Linked DNA regions of Homo sapiens: region 1 is linked to region 2. Evidence: promoter capture Hi-C in 16 types of primary human blood cells and fetal thymus (Javierre and others, 2016). All regions are on one chromosome and are shown on one strand. Each heading gives the region's core, a stretch centred on a gene start or on the middle of the fragment in contact. The rest is flanking DNA. Distances are from core to core; before and after follow the strand shown.

The links. The method cuts DNA at HindIII sites, captures the fragments that hold promoters and counts their contacts. A CHiCAGO score of 5 or more calls a contact.
Region 1: a fragment that was not itself captured here is called in contact with the fragment with the promoter of ADRA2A in region 2 in 3 of 17 cell types (neutrophils, total CD8 T cells and non-activated CD4 T cells); the score reaches 5.7 in neutrophils.

What each region holds. Positions count from the first base shown.
Region 1 is chr10:110,710,621-110,714,342 of GRCh38, forward strand. The region is part of intron 1 of RBM20 (RNA binding motif protein 20); the gene reads left to right. Among named protein-coding and RNA genes, the nearest start is that of RBM20, 68 kb to the left of the region's middle. The HindIII fragment of the contact is 1,779 bases long and covers 1,372-3,150 here.
Region 2 is chr10:111,074,733-111,078,571 of GRCh38, forward strand. ADRA2A (adrenoceptor alpha 2A) reads left to right here and starts at 2,297. Exons shown (of 1, transcript NM_000681.4): 1 at 2,297-3,839. The coding sequence starts at 3,265. RefSeq lists a silencer at 2,260-2,309. The HindIII fragment of the contact is 6,739 bases long and covers 1-3,839 here.

The DNA.
Region 1 (3,722 bases), core at 1,011-3,510, 360 kb before region 2:
GAGAGAAGCTGGTCCTTCCCTCCCCCTTCCCCTTTGGGGGCAAATGATGGGGCTTCCTTTTTCCAAAGTTTTCTGTGCAGATAGGGCACCCTGGCATCCAGTTTTCCAGCTAGACACGTGCGTCATCAGGAACAGCTGCCTGCCCTGGGCTCCTGGCACAGGAGAAGGAGAAGTGAGGTCAGGAACCCTTATCCCAAAGACAGGCTTCATGTGAGTCCCAGGCTCTGGACTTGTGGAGCCGGGCAGGTGACGTGAAGGCCACAGTTGGCTGGGACTGCTTTTGCTTGGGGAACCAGAAGGCTCCTACATGTGGAGGTTGTCATGAGACACACCCCTAGAAGGGAATCCGGATTTCTCCAGGGTCATCTAGAGGAGTGGTTTGGGAGGAGGCTCTTGTTACTGTCCCCCAGCCCAAGACCATGGAGGACTTGTGGGGTGCGTGTGTGATTAGACTCCAGCCGGGCGATTGTGGCCACCCCTATCCAGTGGTGCAGGAAAGAGGCCAGGAAAACCAGCCTGGCTAACATGGTGAAATCCCGTCTCTACTAAAAATACAAAAATTAGCTGGGCGTGGTGGTGGGCACCTGTAATCCCAGCTGCTCGGGAGGCTGAGATAGGAGAATTGCTTGAACCTGGGAGGCGGAGGCTGCAGTGAGCTGAGACTGTGCCACTTCACTCCAGCCTGGGAGACAGAGTGAGACTCCATCTCAAAAAAAAAAAAAAAAAAAAAAAAAAAAGAGTCCAGGAGAGGGGAGGTGTGGGAAGGACAGGCCACTGCCACCTTTACCCCAAGCTACCACCACTGCAATAGCTCTTGCCTGGCTGGGAGGAGGGGACAAAAAGAATGTGGAATCAGCTATGAGACTGAAGTTTTGAAATGAACTGAGCTGAGTCTTAGAAATCTAAATGAGACTGGATAATTGCAAGTGACTGAAAAGTCAACGGATGACTTTAAGGAAGTCCCCACTAATGGGGAAAGTCAGAGAAGGGGTTGACATTGCCCAGATGGGGTAGTTATGTAAAAAACGAAGGCATTCTATGTTTGTACTCTGTGAACTGAGACTGCCGCATAAGCCAGCCTCCTTTATCTATCAGTCTGATCCAGAAGAATTATTGATTTATTCATGCATTTATCCCACAATGCTTAGTATCATCTGCGTACAATGCTAGGTACTAGGAAAACAGGACTTCAGGGTTTTGCAAATGTGCTCTCTTCCTACCCACTAGGATTCTGAATTCCTACACAGGGATTGTATCCTTTTTTTTTCTCTGTCCCTCACCTCTGTTTATTGTTGTTACTCATTTAATATTGTAAGGTAATGTGTTGTTGATCTACAGTGGGAAAGTGCTAGCATTGTTTCAGATTCAGGAAGCTTATTCACATTAGTAATGGTAATTTCTTATTAGAATCAGTAATAGTAAGAAGTGATAAGATCCAAGTATGGAAGTAGCATTTTATTTTCTTTTTTCTCCAATTGAATTATCATATATTTTAATTAAGATCATGTTTTATATTATTTTGTGTCATTCTTCAGTAGGAAATGATGCATCAGACCAAACAAGGTGCTCAGTTACAGTTAGTTAATTGTGAGTTCATGTATGGTTTTCAGGTAAGTCATATGCCAGCTCTGGCCCTCATTTTTGTCATCCCTAAGATATTGTGTATGTTTGATTGTGTGGTTGTGTATAGCAGTAGCAATAATAGTGGTGGTATCAGTAGTAATCATTGTGAACAGAGATGATTCTTTTAAAATTAAAAGCTACTGCAATTTAATAGCTACTGCCATAGTCTGAGCATGACATGAGGAGGTTGGCTAGAATATTTCAATCTTTATTGATTGAGGCCAATAAAAACTGATCTAGAGGCTGGGTGCGGTGGCTCACCCCTGTAATCCCAGCATTTTGGGAGGCCAAGGCGGGTGGATCACTTGAGGTCAGGAGTTTGAGACCAGCCTGGCCAAAATGGTGAAACCCCATCTCTACCAAAAATACAAAAATTAGCAGGGCGTGGCAGTGCCTGCCTTTAATCCCAGCTACTCGGGAGGCTGAGGCAGGAGAATCGCTTGAACCTGGGAAGCAGAGATTGCAGTGAGCTGAGATCGCACCACTGCACTCCAGCCTGGGTGTCAGAACAAGATTCTGTGCCCTGCCCCCAAAAAACTGATCTAGAGACCCCAATAATTACCTTTCAGTTATGTCATGAGTGTGTACTTAATCACCTGGACTCCACTATATAATCTGTTTGGCATAAACTGTTTTTGCTCTTTTCTGTGATTCCCCAACACATCTATTACACCCTCTGTAGAGTATCTTAAAATGGTTGCCGTCATCCTGGGTCACCCCTAACTTTGGCGTCCATATTTGTAAAGTGTCTTTTCCTTCCTCTTTGACTGCCTCAGTTTCCCCCAGAATACCTCTTGTGATGCTTCTTTTGTTCTGTCCACTCCCTCAGTGCTTGCTCTATTCTCCCTGCTCTTTAGGGCTTTTAGTGTGAGAATCACAGAAGATAAGTCATTGACATACATACAGGCTTGACTAACGGGGCAGATGCAGAGAAGTGGATTTTTATGGAAAATATATGGAAAGAAACCTGGCCAAAGAGCCATCACTAGGATTCCAGGTCTGGCGTGGCCACAGATCTGCTGTGTGGTCCTAAACAAGTCTGCTACACAGAGTAACGTGCACTAGGCTTAGCTAGTATTATAACTGTTGCTGGTTATTAGATAATCTTTCCTGGCCTCAGTTTCCTTGCTGTTAAGTAAGGAACATGGCTTGAGTGATATCCTGAGTCCTCTCCACTCTCATTTTAGGTGCAATACGATTATAACCCTGACTAGGATAAATCACTAGGGAACAAAGATGAGGCCCTAAATCTCCTGTGTCCCTTATGACACTTTGCACGCTACAGGGGCAGAGTAGTCATTTAATAATTCAGTACTGCAACTGGGTTTTTAGGGCATTGCTGAGGAATTTTTTATTATCTAAATATATGCATTACTGGCAAATTAAAGAATAAATGGACAAATTCTACTCAGCATTTGTACAGTGTTTTGAAAGAGACTCACATTCATCAATTTAATGTCAGCCTCGCAACCATTCCCTAAAGTAGGTAGAGCACATCTGACCTCAATTTATGGATAAAGAAATGGAAGCTTAGAGAGGGGATTATTTTTTTCAGGTTTCCCAGCTAGTAAGTGGCAAGTCTGGAACCACAATCCCGGGCTCCTTATCCCTGTGCCAGTGCGTTTTCCAGCCTACTAAGGACTACGTTTTTGGGCTAGTTGGGAACAGTAAGAAATACTTCATTGTGAAGACTGATAATATTCAGATGTATTAATCCCTAGAAGATACATGGCCCAAAGGATCATCACCCAGGAATGTTATTAGAATGAAGCTTACCCATCTCCTGTGAGGACCTGGCTAAGCAGATCTGTGCCTGGAGTTACAGTCATGGCAGTGCTCCTGATTCTGAAGATGGGCTATGGGAAGAGGACTTTGGGACATGCTAAGCCTCCTGAGTAGACACTTGAGCCTTGGCATAGTTGGGATTAGGGAATGGTAGGAGACCCTCTTAAGAAAGAAAAGAGTGTTCCCTGACTCAAGAGCCTCATGAACCTGGGTCTTGCCCATGCTGGGTAGCTAGAAATGTAACCATATCTGCAGTTCTTGGAGGTCAATGAAAAGGTTGTGTAAAGGAGTATTGTTTGGCAGATGTCTCTAGT
Region 2 (3,839 bases), core at 1,047-3,546:
AGAAAAGACTCCAAATCAGGGAATTAAGAAACCACCTGGCTGTTTGGGAAGCATTTAGAAAATATGACAAGAGGTGTCATACACAGGCTAGCAGCAGAAATTTCAAGAAAGATAATTACTGTAAACTTTGTTTTTATTTCCTCTTTTGATTCTGAAATTAGGAAGAAGAGCAGTGTGTTGGAAGCTGGGGTGCAGATGGTAAGTGATGGTCTCCTAAGACTCAGTTCCCGAGTTCTACAAACAGCAACACAGCAAACCCCAGATTGCCACGGGCTCTGATTTTTGTCTCTTAGTATTCATACTTGAAGTGTGGGGTTCCTAGTTGCTGTGCAAAAATGACTGTAGCCATGTTTCCAACTGAGCCTACTGGCGATGTCCAAAGCCCCTGCCAAGAGCCTCAGAGCAGAGACTTTAGTAGAAGATGGAAAATGAGTGACTCAACAGAGCGAGGAAATTGTCTTCTCAGCTTCCTTTAGATTGTCCAGAAAGGGAGATTAGAAAGGCTCCTCAGAACTAACACTGGAAAGGGAGTTTATACCATTAGGGCAAAGATTGGGAGACAAAGGTACTGAAGTCAAATGAGACTTCTGTGAAATACTTTGGAAAGTACAGATTTTGAGACTACATGAACAGCAGCAGCACCAATAACTGTATCACTGGTGCGGGCTATAGACATCAGCTGGGAATGAAGGTGATTCTCAGGGCCCTTAATTTAGCCATCAGCCCCCAGCCAGACCTAAGCCTGCAGCTGGCTGCACAGAGAGGCAGCCTGTTCCATCCTTGGAATTCCAACTTAGGTGACTGCACAAGGCATTTTGGTTTAGTGGTTCCTTAAATAAGACGACATTCCTTTAAGTCTAATCTCTCTCCTGCTGAAATTTCCTACCCTCTTGGGTTTTACCATTAAACTGCTTGCTCTCATCTGAAAAGTGCAGCTAGCAGGGTGCAAGCTAGTGCTCTAGTGACCGTTAAAATCTATCCTAGGACAGCTAGCACGCACGGAAAAACTTGCCATTCGCCGCACACCCACTCCCCCCCGCCCCCACCGCTATTCTTATCAGAGAGAACATGGAAAATATTCTACTCCCTCTTCCCCTTATTGAAGGATGCTGTGTGTACATCTGAATGGGGGTGGGATGCGGGGCGGGAGTGGAGTCTAGCTTTCGGTCCTCAACAAAAACATAATGATTCCCAGCAAGCCAGAGCTGTGCAACCAAGGAGGCAGGATCCTGGCCTCTCTCGGATCTGCAGGAAGGGTGGGCTGTGCGGGTCCAGAGTGGGATGCCCGTTCTGGCCGGCGGTGCCTGCTGAGCCCTTCCTGATGTGACTTTATTAGACAAACCCCCACTCCCGCCAGGGGTAGACACACGAGTATCTGCTTTAGGAAGATTTCTGCAACACGGCAGGGTGCAATTCAAACTCTGGGTTCTCCTTTCCTGAGCTTAGAAACCAATTTGTTCGGAGATAGGAGAAGGCTCTGTTGGCAGAAGACCTAAGAGACGGGAGGAGGCGCCTGGCGTCAGCGGGTCGCTTCTCAGCCGTGACCACGAGCGGCCAGCAGGTGTCAGTGCGTCCTCGCTTTGCCCTGGCGCTCGGCTCCTGGACCCCTCCCCACCTCGGTCTAAGGGGGCGCGGTCCAGACCCCGGGTCTTGCGTTTCCCGCAGACAGCATCGCGGCTGGGAGGACACGTAGCCGCTTCTTCCCTAAGCGGAGGTCTGAACTCCGGCTTGTACCACTTCCCCGTGGGTGCTGTCCATTCCGCCCCAGGGGTTCCATCCGAAGCCGCGCCTTCCTCCCTCTCCAGGACCCCTTTCTCCCCAGCCTCCAGGAGCACCTGCGGACCGCGTCGGCTCTGGCCCGGAGCTGGGCTGCTCCAGACGTAACTCACACCGGAGGTTACTTCCCTCGATTTGGGCGGGGATTCCCTTCCATTTTTTTCTTCCCTTTTCTCCCAAGATCCAGCTTCTTGGGGGCACTCACGGGTGCCCGTTGCGTTCTGCTCCGTCGGCCCGGAGCTGCATGGCCAACTCCCAGCAGGGGCCGCTCCTCCCCTACCCCCCACCCCCGGGCTCCCTCTTTAAGTCTCTAGCTCAAGGTACCCGCCTCTCCAAAGGGCTCGTCCCGCCTGAGGGCAACGCTCCCCGAGGTCCAGCGCTAGGCGCGGGCGCTAGACTGGCGGAGGGGTGGTGCGAGGGGCGGGGGAGGGTCGGCTTCCCACGTGGGGGCTGACGCCGGCTGCTCAGCAACGCTTGCTTGATCCTGGGGCTATAAAACGAGTCCACCGTGAGCGCAGCGGAGCAGCAGCAGCTCCAGCTCGGTGCAGAAGCCCAGCAGCCGGCGTGCCGCCGCCCGGCCACTCCAGCGCCTTCTTCCCCGCCTTGCGCTCCTGCCCCAACTCGCGCTGTCGTCGGACCCCGGCCCATCCAGCAGCGCTCGGCGCCCACCAGGCGGACGCCCAGGAGAACCCCTGCCTCCGTCGCGGCTCCTGGAGAGCTGATCGTTCACCTGCCCCGGCCCGCCTGAGGACGGGGGTGCCTTCATGCGGCCCCCACACTCCTCACCCCGCCGCCGCCGCCGTCCCGGAGCTCCGCACAGTGTGCCCCAGCCCCAGCAGGGCGCACAACTTTGGAAGTCTCGCGGCGCTCCGAGAGGCGGCAGAGTCCGCGCCCCAGCCCCGGGCCGGGCCGGGCCAGAACCGCAGCGTCTGGGGGAAGCCAGAGAGTCGGTAATCGCTTCGGGGATGTAAGGCGACAGACATAGGACCCCCGAGCTCGCATCAGCACCCTTCGGCTGCCTCCCGGGGTGGGGGCGGGCCCCGCACACGGTAAGACCTCTTGCTTTCGCTCAGGCTCAAGATTCAAGATACAGATATTGATATGTATATATATATTTAATTTCCTGTCATCCTTCCAAGTTATCAGGCCACCGATGATTTTTGTTCTCCCTTCTTGAAGAATAAATCTCTCTTTACCCATCGGCTCTCCCTACTCTCTCCCGCCGCTTAGAAATAAAACTTGGCTGTATTAGGAGCTCGGAGCAAGAAGGCGCCCACCGAGAGCGTCTGAAGCGCGAGCCAGGCGCAGTTCGCGGGACCCGGGCCATGGGCCGCTAGCGGTCCTCCAGTTCGGGCCCGGCCTCCCTGCGGCCCCCTCCCTATGTGAGCCGCAGCCAGGCGAGCGGGGCGCCGGAGGAAGAGGAGGACCCACGGGCGCCGGGCCGGAAGGCAGCTGGCAGCAGGCCCAGGCCAGCGGGCGCCCGCGTTCATGTTCCGCCAGGAGCAGCCGTTGGCCGAGGGCAGCTTTGCGCCCATGGGCTCCCTGCAGCCGGACGCGGGCAACGCGAGCTGGAACGGGACCGAGGCGCCGGGGGGCGGCGCCCGGGCCACCCCTTACTCCCTGCAGGTGACGCTGACGCTGGTGTGCCTGGCCGGCCTGCTCATGCTGCTCACCGTGTTCGGCAACGTGCTCGTCATCATCGCCGTGTTCACGAGCCGCGCGCTCAAGGCGCCCCAAAACCTCTTCCTGGTGTCTCTGGCCTCGGCCGACATCCTGGTGGCCACGCTCGTCATCCCTTTCTCGCTGGCCAACGAGGTCATGGGCTACTGGTACTTCGGCAAGGCTTGGTGCGAGATCTACCTGGCGCTCGACGTGCTCTTCTGCACGTCGTCCATCGTGCACCTGTGCGCCATCAGCCTGGACCGCTACTGGTCCATCACACAGGCCATCGAGTACAACCTGAAGCGCACGCCGCGCCGCATCAAGGCCATCATCATCACCGTGTGGGTCATCTCGGCCGTCATCTCCTTCCCGCCGCTCATCTCCATCGAGAAGAAGGGCGG